2 separate regions of the Homo sapiens genome follow, and region 2 is linked to region 1. The links are contacts of gene promoters, found by promoter capture Hi-C in blood cells and fetal thymus (Javierre and others, 2016). All regions are on one chromosome and are shown on one strand. The core of a region is centred on a gene start or on the middle of the fragment in contact, and the rest is flanking DNA. Distances in the headings are between cores, read along the strand shown.

Region 1 (2,999 bases), core at 205-2,704:
GTTATAATCTTGTACTGTTATAATACTATAATTATAGTATACATTCATTGGAAAAATATTCAAACAGCACAGTACAGGGAAGCTAAATGTGGAAAGTAAAGATCCTCAGAAGCTTTCCTTCCTAGGCTCACCCACCAGAGGTAATCATTAACAGTTTCTTGCATATCCTCCAGGAATGTTCTGCGCAAACACACACACACACACACACACACACACACACACACACGGACGCAAACAAATACCATCCCTCTCTCTTCTCTCTCTGTATACGTACGCATATGTTTAATTCTGCAAGTTGCTTTGTTTAAAACTCAATACCTTTTGGAGGTATTTATATATCAGCATATTCAGATACAATTTACTTTTTTTAAAAAGGGTAATATGCCATTGTATTAATATTCCATACTTTAAGTTCCTCTATCGATGGACAATTAGAATGCTTTTTTTTTTCTTGCCACACACACACAAAAATTGCTGCCAGAAATCTTTGTAGTAAATCTTTGGATATTGGTGCAAAAATAATTGTTGCATACTTTCTTAGTGGTGAAATTGCTGAATCAATCCGCTCAAGCCTCTCATATTGTCAAATTACTCCTCCTAAAAGGTTATACTAATGACATTCTCACATCATTTCCTTACATCTTGGTACACATTTGGTATTAAGCGACTTCACAAGTTTGCCAGTCTAAACACATGGAAAAAAATGGCGTCATGTTGTTTTTATTTGGGTCTCTTTATGAGTAGGGCAGCAAGACCTGATTGTTAAACGTTCAAGTTTTGAAGTTAAACTCCCTGGGTCTGGATCCTACTTCTTCCTTGTAAAATGTGTGATCTCGGGCATGCTGGGTCTACTTCCTCGTCTCAAAAAAAGAGGATAAAGAGAGTACATATCTTTAGGCTTAAACAAGATACGCAGGCATACAGGAAGCCCTTCTTATGCGTTCGCTACTAGCGGTACTGATCCTAATTTTTTTGAAGCCGTGCCGGCTCCGGTACTTTATTTTTGGTGTGCTCCTCCAACCAACCAAGTTTCGCAGAATTCTGTTGTTGCCTGTAATTAGAAATGAGACGAAAATTGGCTCCGCTTGTTCAAAATTCTCCTCCCTCCGCCCCAACTCTGCCTTAGAATCACTGGTTTAAATGTCAATGTAAAGGAATGAGTTGCAATTTTTAAGCAACATGTAAAGTGCACACCTGGTCTGAGTACCTCCCGGCGGCCAGGACCCGCCGTTTTCGGTATAGGGAACACCAGATAACAATATATAACGCTACCTAACAAACGTTTCTCCACCCACAGCGCCATTAGCGGTTAGGTTTGCAGTGCCGAAGAGCTGCAAGAAAACGGGGCTTGAAACAGGAATACAATTGCAGATCCACCCACTACACGCAAAGGGCCCGGGACGCGCCTCCACAGCCCCGCCCCAACCGGAAGTGACGCACCGCGCCGACTATTTCTTCCGCCGTCCGCCGGTGGCGAGGCCCAGGCTGTCGCCGGGTGTGCAGCGGCGTCGCGGCCAGTAGAGGGATTCTGGGTAACGGCCCGGACCCCCGGCTGGGCTTCTGGCTCGGCGCAGCAGGTTCCATTCACGCCAAGTCTGTTGGCAGTGGCAGTTGTAGGGCCAAGGGCGGTTGTAGGACCCGGAGCAGCCGGACATGGAACAACCGTGGCCGCCTCCGGGACCCTGGAGCCTCCCTCGGGCCGAGGGTGAGGCTGAGGAAGAGAGTGACTTCGACGTGTTCCCCAGTTCTCCCCGCTGCCCGCAGCTGCCAGGCGGCGGCGCCCAGGTGAGAAGGGGCCTGCGTTCTGCGGAGGGATGGAGTGGTGCTGTCGCCAAACCCCTGGAATGCCGCGTCTCCCAGACCCTCTTCTACGCCTTTTTCTACGCCCACCTCACTGCCAGGGGCCGGGGACCTGGGACCTGACGCCTGATGCCATCCCACCCCTTTTATGGCATCTTCGGAGGGCAGACGGGGTGGCCATATATTACCAACCTCCACCTCCACGCACATGTTTTCTTTCGCCTTGGCTGATTCCTGTTCACTCTTGGAATACCTTCCTCCATCTCCCCTTCCTGACAGCACTCAGATTTGGGGCGGCTCATGCTGTAACATTGACCCTTTGTCCTCTTGTGAGAGGTTTTCCCCAAGCACTTTATTCTGTTAAAGGCTCTAGCATACTTGTGCACAGTTGCTAGGAACAGTGAATGATTGTAGTTCAGCATCACACTGAGTCCTGACAAAGATTTCACATGCGATTTTCACCGATGTTGACAACTGAGTAAATTCTTTAAATCTCGCTTTTGACGCTGGCGTACACCTCTCCCATTCGCGTGACCATCTTTGCCTTACTGTTTTGTTTTTTAGTTTTGCTTCACGTCATTCTCCAGTGAAAATATATACGCATATACTTGTGTTTTCCTTCAGACTTCTCTTAGGTTCCTGGTATTGTGTTTTCAATCCAGCATTCCTGCCTTCCTGCGACTGAAACGTATCCAAATGTGATATACTATTAAGGATTTTTCAGGGACCTATCTTAGGGGATACTTACATACTCGCATCACCTTGTCCTGTTTTTTTCTCCGAATCCGTGTGTGTTTTGGAAGTATATTTCAGAATCACAGACTAAACACTAATATATTCAATGGATCATAAGTGTCTGCCGCCTTCTTGCAAAATGGGGTTCCCAAGAGTGTAACAGATTTAATAGTAGTTTTCCTCTCAACTTATTTTGCTAGATGTTAATGAGAATGAGTTAAATTGCTTACCAGTAAGCGTGACATTATCAATCTTATGTCCAGCTAACAGGGTTAGTTGGCTTCACACAGAGAAAAATGCTGTTTCATAACCACTGTCTGTACTTTGGCCAGCTAAGTCACTGGGGAACTACAAGACATTTTTTAGGAGGACAGAATGAGAGTTGATGGGTCCATCATTAGTCACCCACTAATTTTGGATCACTAGTGTCATCTTTATATACAAAATGTATTATAAGCACATGA
Region 2 (3,143 bases), core at 216-2,715, 1.2 Mb before region 1:
TTCCTCTTTATTTCTTCACACGGATTAAAATTTACCATTAAGTGTCCTTTCATTTCAACCTGAAAGACTCCCTTTAACATTTCTTAGAGTTCGTGAGAATCCTTTCAGTTTTTATCTATTTGGAAACGTCTTAATTTCACTTTCAGTTTTGAAGAAAAGTTTAGCTAAATAGAGAATTACTGGTTGACAGTCTTTTACTTTCAATGTTGAAAATGTCTTCTAGCCTCCAGGGTTTCTCGTAAGTCAGCTATTAAGCCTATTGAGGATTCCTTGTAACAAGTCATTTTTCTCCTGCTACTTTCAAGATTTTTCTTTAAATTCAACTATGATGGGTCTAGGTATGGATCACTTTGGGCTTATTCAACTTGGATTACAGTGAGCTTCTTGGATGTGTAGCACAGAGTAATATTTTTCAGCAAGTTTGGAAAGTTTTCTGCCATTTTTTTTTAAATATTCTTTCTGCCTCATTCTCATCTTCTGGGAATCCTATAATGTCCATGTTGGCACAACATTTAATGGAGTCACATAAGTCTTTTGAGACTCTGTTCATTTTTCTTTCTGATCCTCACATTGAACAATCTCTATTGACCTAACTTCGAGTTAAAAGATTCCTTCATTTGCCAATTTATATCTGTTGTTGAGCTCCTCTAGTGAATTTTTCATTTCAGTTATTATACTTTTAAGCTCCAGAACTTCCTTGTTTTTTAATAATTTCTATCTTTATTGATACTCTTTCTCTGGTGAAACACCATTCTGATGCTTCCCTTTAATTCTTTAGACATGGTTTCATTTAGTTCTTTGAATGTATTTGTAATAGCTAACTTAAAGACTACAAAGTCTAAAATCTAGGCTCCCACAGGGACTTTTTTTGTTCGTTTTTTATTATTTGTCTCTGTGTGTTTTATTTCCTGTTTCTTTGCATTTCTCAATTTTTGTTAAAACTGAACATTTTAGGTAATATATTTTAACAAATCTCATATCAGATTGCTCCACATTATTCCCCTAAATTTTTTAATCATCAGTGTGTTGTTTTTCTTGATGCTGATTCTTTAGTACTTTCATGAACGAATTTTACAGATCCTGTATTCCCCGTAGTGTGTGGCCACCGAGTTCTCTGCTAGAACTTTTTTTTTTTTTTTTTTTAGGATCTTGTTTTTATTTGTAAGCCTGGCTTCCAAGAAGTCATACCTGGACCAGTAAAATGTAGTAGTCAACCAATGATCATTTAAAAGATTTCCTTAAATGCTTTGCCTATATGTCTTCTACCTTTTGCCAAAGAAATCTTCATGAGAAGTCATACCTTCAAACTTCAGGAAGCTTACAAATAGCACTGATTTTCACTTCCTGCTTACACAGTGCCTCAAGATCAGTCAGAGGTGACATTCTCCTTTCCCAGGTCATTTCCGGGCATGTGTACAGACTTGCACATTGTACAGCCTTTTAAATACCCAGGAATATGCCAGAGCTTTCCAAAGTTCCCTATAGTTGGCTAGTTCTCCAGACTTTCCTTTTAAATTCCTGGCCAGATTCTTCCTTTGCCTCAACTGAAATCACAGCCTTAGGCAATTGACATTTTGCCAACAGTTTGCTATTGTTTCAGTAATGCCCTGGGGGTAAGCTTTTTCTTCCCCCAACTGAGCTGAGTTCAGAGTCAAATCAAATATCCAGCCACTCTCTCTGAAAAGAGTTTTCCCAGGGAGCTGCAAGTTGGGACAAAATATTAACTGTGCTCTGGGGATAGTGCCTTCAATGGGGCTCCAGAAGTGGTCAGCTCTCTCCATTGTCTGCAATACTGCCAGCTTTTAGCTACACCACTAAGCTGGAGAGAGAGATGAGAATAACCCCAAGTTAAAATATCGCAGACCCCACTGGTCTTCCCAAGATTCACTAGTTTTCTCTTGGACAGATGATTTTCAATTCATACTCCTGCTTAATTGCCAGAATTCTAAAATGGCTGATTTTCATTATTTTACCCATATTTTTGTTGTTGTATAGGCAGCACAAATTCACTGAGGCCCTCACTCCACCATTCTGGAAGTTGATCAAGTTCTGTAATATTCTGAATTTATAATTTTCAGGACAAAAAGATCTTAACCAAAAAAAACAAACCCTCACTTAGTTTGATTTTTTAAAAATATACTTAAAATTTTTAGATCACTGATTCTTATCTCTAATAGAAACTTATGAAAAAAATCTGTATTTCAGTACTTAAATGAGAGTGAAACAGATCTGTGAGACAGGAAAAAATAAACTGCATAAACAATTTATCACATCTTTCCTGTTAACTAATATGTGAATCATCAAAAACAAAGGTGATTACTGGTCTCAGAGCCACTCTCAGTCCTAAACGGCCTCTCAAATCTTTTGGGGACAACAGAAACAAGTAAAAGTGAGGAGGAAAGCCTAGTCCATCTTGTCTTACTTGGCTGACTGAGGCCAAAACCAACTATACTCTGATAGTAAGAAATTTTTTTAAAACCACAGAAAACTGGAAGTGGGAAATCGACAGAAAAGAAGAATCAGATACTTGACTTAGGAGGCAACCCTATCTCTTGAGATTTCTCTGAAGAGACTCAGAACAGAGATTGAGTTTACCTCAGATTCACCCAAGTATAGGCCAAAATCGCGGGCTTCTGGAAGAGAAAAGAGTTGTTCATTACTATTTCTCTTTTGTTAGCTGGTATTGGCAAGCCAAGGAAAGACCAAAACTGTCAAGGTAGGCCGAGAAAAGTAAACATCTTTTAGCAAGGCTTTTATTTTCAAGAATATTGTCGCATGTTTCTTTTGCTTTTCTTTTGTTGTGTAACAAACCACCCCAAAACTTACTGGCACAACAACCACCATTTTATTTGGTCATAATTCTGCAATCTGAGCAGGGCTCAACTAGGCAGTTCTTACAGTCATCTTGCTGGTGGTCATTCATACTACTGCTTTCAGCCAGCAGGTGAGAAATGAGATCAGCTAGGATACTAGCATGGCTAAGCATCTCTCTCCATGTAATCTCAGAAATTCTCCCTCTCCATGTGGCCTCTTTTCCACTGGGTCTCTCTAGGAGAACGGTCAGATTCTTACATGATGATCCTCTCTCTCGAAAACACAAAAGCATAAGTTGTCGGGCCTTTTTGCACCCAGACCTGGAAGAG

Evidence for each region. The method cuts DNA at HindIII sites, captures the fragments that hold promoters and counts their contacts. A CHiCAGO score of 5 or more calls a contact.
Region 2: a contact is called between a fragment that was not itself captured here and the fragment with the promoter of CDC37L1 in region 1, in 1 of 17 cell types (naive CD4 T cells). The highest score is 5.3, in naive CD4 T cells.

What each region holds. Positions count from the first base shown.
Region 1 is chr9:4,678,115-4,681,113 of GRCh38, forward strand. It overlaps CDC37L1 (cell division cycle 37 like 1, HSP90 cochaperone), which reads left to right and starts at 1,455. Exons shown (of 7, transcript NM_017913.4): 1 at 1,455-1,785. The coding sequence starts at 1,654. CDC37L1-DT (CDC37L1 divergent transcript) reads right to left here and starts at 1,366. Exons shown (of 2, transcript NR_121598.1): 1 at 1,273-1,366. RefSeq lists an enhancer at 1,589-1,678. The HindIII fragment of the contact is 3,086 bases long and covers 111-2,999 here.
Region 2 is chr9:3,477,286-3,480,428 of GRCh38, forward strand. All of the region lies in intron 1 of RFX3 (regulatory factor X3), which reads right to left. Among named protein-coding and RNA genes, the nearest start is that of RFX3, 47 kb to the right of the region's middle. RefSeq lists enhancers at 986-2,185, 1,208-1,257. The HindIII fragment of the contact is 301 bases long and covers 1,316-1,616 here.